Regions from separate parts of the Homo sapiens genome. Here region 2 is linked to region 1. The links are contacts of gene promoters, found by promoter capture Hi-C in human tissues and cell types (Jung and others, 2019). All regions are on one chromosome and are shown on one strand. The core of a region is centred on a gene start or on the middle of the fragment in contact, and the rest is flanking DNA. Distances in the headings are between cores, read along the strand shown. Region 1 holds the start of RD3L (RD3 like). Region 2 has its middle 14 kb from the start of PPP1R13B-DT.

What was found. Contacts are between HindIII fragments. The study calls those that stand out against the background at their distance.
Region 2: a fragment that was not itself captured here is called in contact with the fragment with the promoter of RD3L in region 1 in 5 of the 25 tissues and cell types used here (H1 embryonic stem cells, dorsolateral prefrontal cortex, liver and 2 more).

What each region holds. Positions count from the first base shown.
Region 1 is chr14:103,940,777-103,943,798 of GRCh38, reverse strand. RD3L (RD3 like) reads left to right here and starts at 1,270. Exons shown (of 3, transcript NM_001257268.2): 1 at 1,270-1,707; 2 at 2,097-2,402; 3 at 2,696-3,022. The coding sequence starts at 2,104. The coding sequence ends at 2,993. All of the region lies in intron 1 of TDRD9 (tudor domain containing 9), which reads right to left. The HindIII fragment of the contact is 5,559 bases long and covers 1-3,022 here.
Region 2 is chr14:103,860,281-103,863,614 of GRCh38, reverse strand. No RefSeq gene overlaps it. Among named protein-coding and RNA genes, the nearest start is that of PPP1R13B-DT, 14 kb to the right of the region's middle. The HindIII fragment of the contact is 8,038 bases long and covers 1-3,334 here.

The DNA of each region.
Region 1 (3,022 bases), core at 21-2,520:
GCTCACTTGAAAGGAAAAGCAACAGAAGAAACAAATACTATAAAAGGGAAAACCACTATGCAGTCGTTTCACAGAGAACTGGGGAGTAAAAGACCTTTTATACTATCTACTCTTTAGCAAAAGACAAACACTTGCATAGGAAATTAGCACAGGCCAGCGCAGTGGCTCATGCCTGTAATCCCAGCACTTTGGGAGGCTGAGGCAGGTGGATTACTTGAGCCCAGTTTACGGACCAGCCTGGGCAACACAGGGAGACCTTATTTCTACAAAAAAAAAAAAAAAAGAAATGTATGTGTGTGTGTATATATGTGTGTATTATATATGTGTGTATATTTATATATACATATATAATACATATACATATGCGTATATATACTTATGTGTATATATACATATATGTACATATATAAAATACATACACATATGTACATATATAAAACATATATGTATGTACATATGTGCGTGTGTATATATTTTTTTAAACTAGCCAGGCATGCCGTAGCATGCACCTGTGGTGGCATGCACCTATGGTCCTGGCTATTCAGGGGGCTGAGGTGGGAGGATCACTTGAGCCCAGGAGGTCGAGGCTACAGTGAGCCGTGATCATGCCACTGCACTACAGCCTGGGTGACACAACGTGACTCTGTCTCAAAAAAAAGAAAGAAAGAAAAAAGAAATAGCACAATAATGACCATTACAAACCAATATGCACCTAAATAGTAAATATAAGTTTTTCATCCTCAGCTCCAAAAAAAAAACACGAAAATGATTTTTCTACGATGAATTATAAGATTTTGTTTAGAATTTTGTATGTTCTTATGCCTCTATTTTTCCCTGACAACCAATTACTGCCTTATTACCATATTTTCAGAGATTATAAAGTATATTTTAAAGTTATCTAGCTGTTTATTATGTCCCCTAGCATTTCAACTTGCTTAAATATACAAATTTAACTATTTTGAAAAAACCAAAATGAATACAAAATGTAACATTTGCTAAATATTTCACAATTATAATTCACATCAGCATTCTTTACCTATTTCACTCAATTACAATGAGTTTTCTCAGAATGTATGTTTTGCAAATAGTCAAGTCTAATCTATTTTTCCTGTTTTCACTAGAGGGGACAGTGACCCGGCTTCCAAATGGCCTGAAAGTTAAGCTGAAGAATAAAAGCAACGTGGCTATTTTTAGAGCTCTACAGGCATAAAAATACAGCACTAAACTGTGACCTACAGCTATGCACAGCAAAGCATCACATCACGCGACAGTCTTCACTCTAGCTCGGAGCGCATCTATGGTGCTTTAGACGACCATTCTTCGTTTCACTACCAAAGACATGTCGGAATGCATTTAGGACCAGCATCTATAGCTGCTGGCATTTTTTTCAAATAGACTGAGCTACATTGAAAAGGCAGACCATTATATAACTTGTGAAGATTAAATAGTCAGTTATTTTTGTCATTTCTTCTAGCTTACTTACAAGGTGAATTAATGAGCATTCTCTCCAAATGAAGACATCACAGCCTCATTCCTAACACAGAAAGTTATTTATTTCAAATACAGTTTCGGTGGGTAAATAAGGTGGCGCATTCCTTCTACAGAGGACACACCTAGGAGAGCAAGATACGTCCCAGTGAAACACAGCTTCGTCACCAACTTCAGTCAACTCTTTGGCAACATCACATCAGCCCATCAACTTAACAGGTAAGCTTTAAACCTTTTCTGTCCAAAACATAAATCAAAAGTATCTGTAGGCAGCACTTGCCCCGACATTAATATTTTAAGTCTCTTAAGAACTTTTCACAGCAAGTGTTAGTGTTATTTTCGGATATCATTCAGTCTATATGTTATCTCTGACTTTGTATATCTAATTTCTGCTAAGCTACATAAAAGCATTTTCAAAGCTTGGTTTCTGCCACTGACCTAGTTAAAAATTAAGACGTTAATCCATGTTCTAATCTTATTTTGACCTGCATAGCTAAATGTGAAAAAAAATCGTGCACTTTTCGGGCAAATTTATTGTAAAGAAACAAATATTTGCTCAGAAGAACATAACATTTTGAGCAAATAAACAAGTGAAAATATTTCCATAGGCTAAAAATGCCACTTTTTGGCTGGATGAAATGGCCCAAAAACGATTCCTACAAACCCACACACTATCCTGGCTCAGACATAGTGACAAAGACTCTGCTTCGGGAATTAAAATGGCACCTAAAGGAGCGAGAGAGATTAATACAAGAAATCGAAAATGAACAAAAAGTGAAAAAAACAGGTGTGGATTACAACTGGCTCAGAAACTACCAGAATCCCCACACAACTATCCCAGTGACTGAACAAAGACAACTTGAAGTTCTTTGCTCACAAGTTCAACCTTGCCAAACTGGAACTATTCTCAGCAGGTAAAAATACTATGTTCTCTTATGATTCCTGCTACTGCTAAGTCCAAGTTCCTCATATATTTTGACTAGAAACTGTATTCTATCATGTAAATTCTTTAACTGTGTAGATGTCTGGTGAGCAATTGTTTTAAATTACATTTAAAATTTCTTTACTAGAAGCATAATTTTAAAACAACATGCAAAATACTCAAAAGGTGGGTAACTTGTATACATTATTCAAGCTGTATTTTGGAGATAAAGAGATATAACAAAAAATGTTCTAAACTGAATATTCATTACCATTTCCCCTCTAGATTTCGAGAAGTTTTGGCAGAAAATGATGTACTGCCATGGGAAATAGTCTACATCTTCAAGCAAGTTCTGAAAGACTTCCTAAGCAGCTCTGACAGAGGGAGTGAGCAAGAGGACCTGGAGGACTCAGGGAGCATGGACTGCTCTGCTCCTTCTGTGATCCAAGGTGACAGCTCCAAGAGGGCAGACAAAGATGAAATACCCACCATTTCCAGTTACGTAGACAAAAACACAAAGGACAGGTTCCCAGTGTTCTCACACAGAATATGGAACCTACCATATTATCACCCATCTAGTTAAGTTACTTACAACTAGAGGGGTTTTTATGA
Region 2 (3,334 bases), core at 757-3,256, 81 kb after region 1:
TGGAGCACGGGGGATTTTTAGGACAGAGAAACTACTCTGTATGACACTAGAGTGGCAGATACATATGGTTATGCATTTGTCCAAACCCATAGAATGTATGAGAGCAAGCGTGAGCCCGAATGTAAACTATGGACTCTGGAGATCATGATGTGTCAATGAAGGTTCATTGATTGTAACAAACGTGCCACTGTCAGGGGAGATGTTGGCAGTGGAGGAGGCTGCATGGGGTGGAGGGACAGCGGTCTATGGGAGAGCTCTGTGTCTTCCACTCCATTTGGCTGTGAACCTAAAACTTCTCTAAAAAATAAAGCCTATCATAATATTTTTAAAAAATCAAGCCAGGCAGAACAGGGTCTGGAGGCAGGGAATCTAAGGGCATTTCACACCAACTTCCTAGAACTAAATTGAAAAGAAAACCCTAACTTTCCAAGCCTAAATAACAAAAGGAGCCGAAGCTACTTCTTTTGCAAACCTCCTTTTTTTTTTTTTTTTTTTGGAGACAGGGTCTCTGTGGTCGAGGCTGGAGTGCCAGTGGCATGATCTTGGCTCACTGCAACCTCTGCCTCCCAAGTCCAAGCGATTCTCCTGCCTCAGCCTCCCGAGTAGCTGGGACCACAGGCAGGTGCCACCACCACGCCCAACTAATTTTTTTGTATTTTTAGTAGAGATGGGGTTTCGCCATGTTGGCCAGGCTGGTCCTGAACTTCTGACCTCAAGTGATCCGCTCTCCTCAGTTTCCTAAAGTGCTGGGATTACAAGCGTGAGCCACTGCACCTGGCTTGAACCCACACCTTTTCTTCATGGCAGATGGGAAATTGGCTGTTGGCAACCAATCAGACTGAATGGTGACCGAGTCTTCATTTGCACAGGAGTATAACTTTGTAACTTTAGCCTCTGATTGGTCACTTTCTATAGCCAATCAGATGTTTGCACAGGAGTGTGACCTTTGTAACTTCACTTCAGCCTCTGATTGACTGCTTTCCGCAACCAATTGTGGGCCACTGCTTCATTTACATAAGGTGACTACCAAGTGGCCAATAGGAAACCTGTAGTGGGTATTTGAACCCGAGAAGATTCTGTATCCGGGCTCTTGAGCTGCTCCAGCTGCTTCCACACTGTGGAGTGTACTTTCATTTTCAGTAAATCCCTGCTTTCGTTCTTTCATTGCTTCATTCTTTCTTTGCGTTGCTGGGCATTTTGTCCAATTCTTTGTTCAAAACGCCAAGAACCTGGAAAACTTGCAGTCAAGACCCTCTACTGGTGACACAAGTACATGGATTATTATTATGATGATGATTTTTTTGGAGACAGAGTCTCGTTCTGTTTTCCAGGCTGGAGTGCAGTGGCATGATCTAGGCTTACTTCAATCTCCACCTCCCAGGTTAAATCAATTCTTGTGCCCCAGCCTCCCGAGTAGCTGGGATTACAGGTGCGTGCCACCACACCTCGCTAATTTGTCTATTTTTAGTAGGGATGGGGTTTCACCATGTTGGCCAGCCTGATCTCAAACTCCTGGCCTCAAGACATCCGCCGGTATGTGCATGTATGTGGGGGTGTGTGTGTGTGTGTAAATTCCCCCCTGGCCCCAGCTGGACCCGTCTTTCAAGACCAACATCCTTCAGCAAAGCCCCTCCTGGCCTTGCCTGTGCTCTTCAGACCTCGCTCAGCTGAGCAGACCCCTGGCTCCGGGCAGGCTAAGGGGCCAGCAACTTCCTTTCAGCGTTTCTGGGAGGTATGCACCATGTCCTCCTACTTCACTTGAGAGGTGTTTCCTGAACTTTTCAGAACCATCTCAGGCACCCCAGCACCAATTGCAGCAGTCAGCCACCTTATCTCCAAATGCCACTGCCAGCTGCCTTCTCTGGTGTTGGCAAAAAGGACAGATCACCCTGTTCCCCTCTGTACTCATGTCTATGTGGGGAAGGCTGGTGTGGGTGAGCCAGTGAGAAGATGCTGCTGTTGAGCTGGTGGGAGTGTTTCAAGGTCAGGTCGGCAGCCTTCTCACTCAAGGCAGATCAGCAGATGAGCTGGCTGGCCATGAGATGGGGCCCTCCCTAGCAGGCAGCAGCGTCTCACCCAGTGCAGGGACACAGCAAATGCCGATGTGGTGTTCACCATGTGATGCACACATTGTTTCATGTAACTGACAAAAATCCTTGAGGGAGGCTGGGCGCTGTGGCTCACTACTGTAATCCCAGCACTTTGCGAGGCCAAGGCGGGTGGATCACCTAAGGTCAGGTGTTTGAGACCAGCCTGGCCAACATGGTGAAACTTCGTCTCTACTAAAAATACAAAAATTAGCTGGGCATGGTGGTGCACGCTTGTAGTCCCAGCTACTTGGGAGGCTGAGGCAGGAGAATTGCTTGAACCCGAGAGGTGGAGGTTGCAGTGAGCCGAGATCTTACCACTGCACTCCAGCCTAGGTGACAGAGCAAGACTCTGTCTCAAAAATAATAATAATAATAATAATAATAATAATAATAATAATAATAATCCTTGAGGGAGGCACTGTTATTATCCCCATCTACAGGTGAGCAAACTAAGGCACAGAAACGTTATGTAACTGGCCCAAAATTACACAGCCGAAACTAAGTGGCAGATGTTCTCTAGCTCCACAGTCCAAGCTCATAGGTACTGTGTGAAAGAAAGCACATTTTGGGCCGGGCGCGGTGGCTCACGCCTGTAATCCCAGCACTTTGGGAGGCCGAGGCGGGCAGATCACGAGGTCAGGAGATCGAGACCATCCTGGCTAACATGGTGAAACCCCGTCTCTACTAAAAATACAAAAAATTAGCCGGGCGAGGTGGCGGGCGCCTGTAGTCCCAGCTGCTCAGGAGGCTGAGGCAGGAGAATGGCGTGAACCCAGGGGGCGGAGCCTGCAGTGAGCTGAGATCCAGCCAAGATTGCGCCACTGCACTCCAGCCTGGGCAACAGCGAGACTCCATCTCCAAAAAAAAAAAAAAAAGAAAGAAAGAAAAGAAAGCACATTTTGCTAACTTCTTGCTACAAAATATCCAAGTAGTTACTGCCAAATGGATCCTGAGCTCATAAAACAATGCAAAGTGTATACATTGTAGAGAGTGCAGGATTTAGAGTCAGAAGAGCTGGATTTGAATCTTGGCTCTCCCACTCAGAGGCTGAAAGACCCGGAAAGCCTCCATATCCTCATCTGTAATGAAGGAGAAATGGTATTTCCTTCACAGGATTATAGCGACCGGCAAGTGAGATAAAATCCTTTGAAACACTTGGGAATGATGCAATGACAATTTTGAAAATCAAAATTAAATTTCAACATAAAAATAAATTAAGGAGCACTCAGAACTGGCCTTGATTC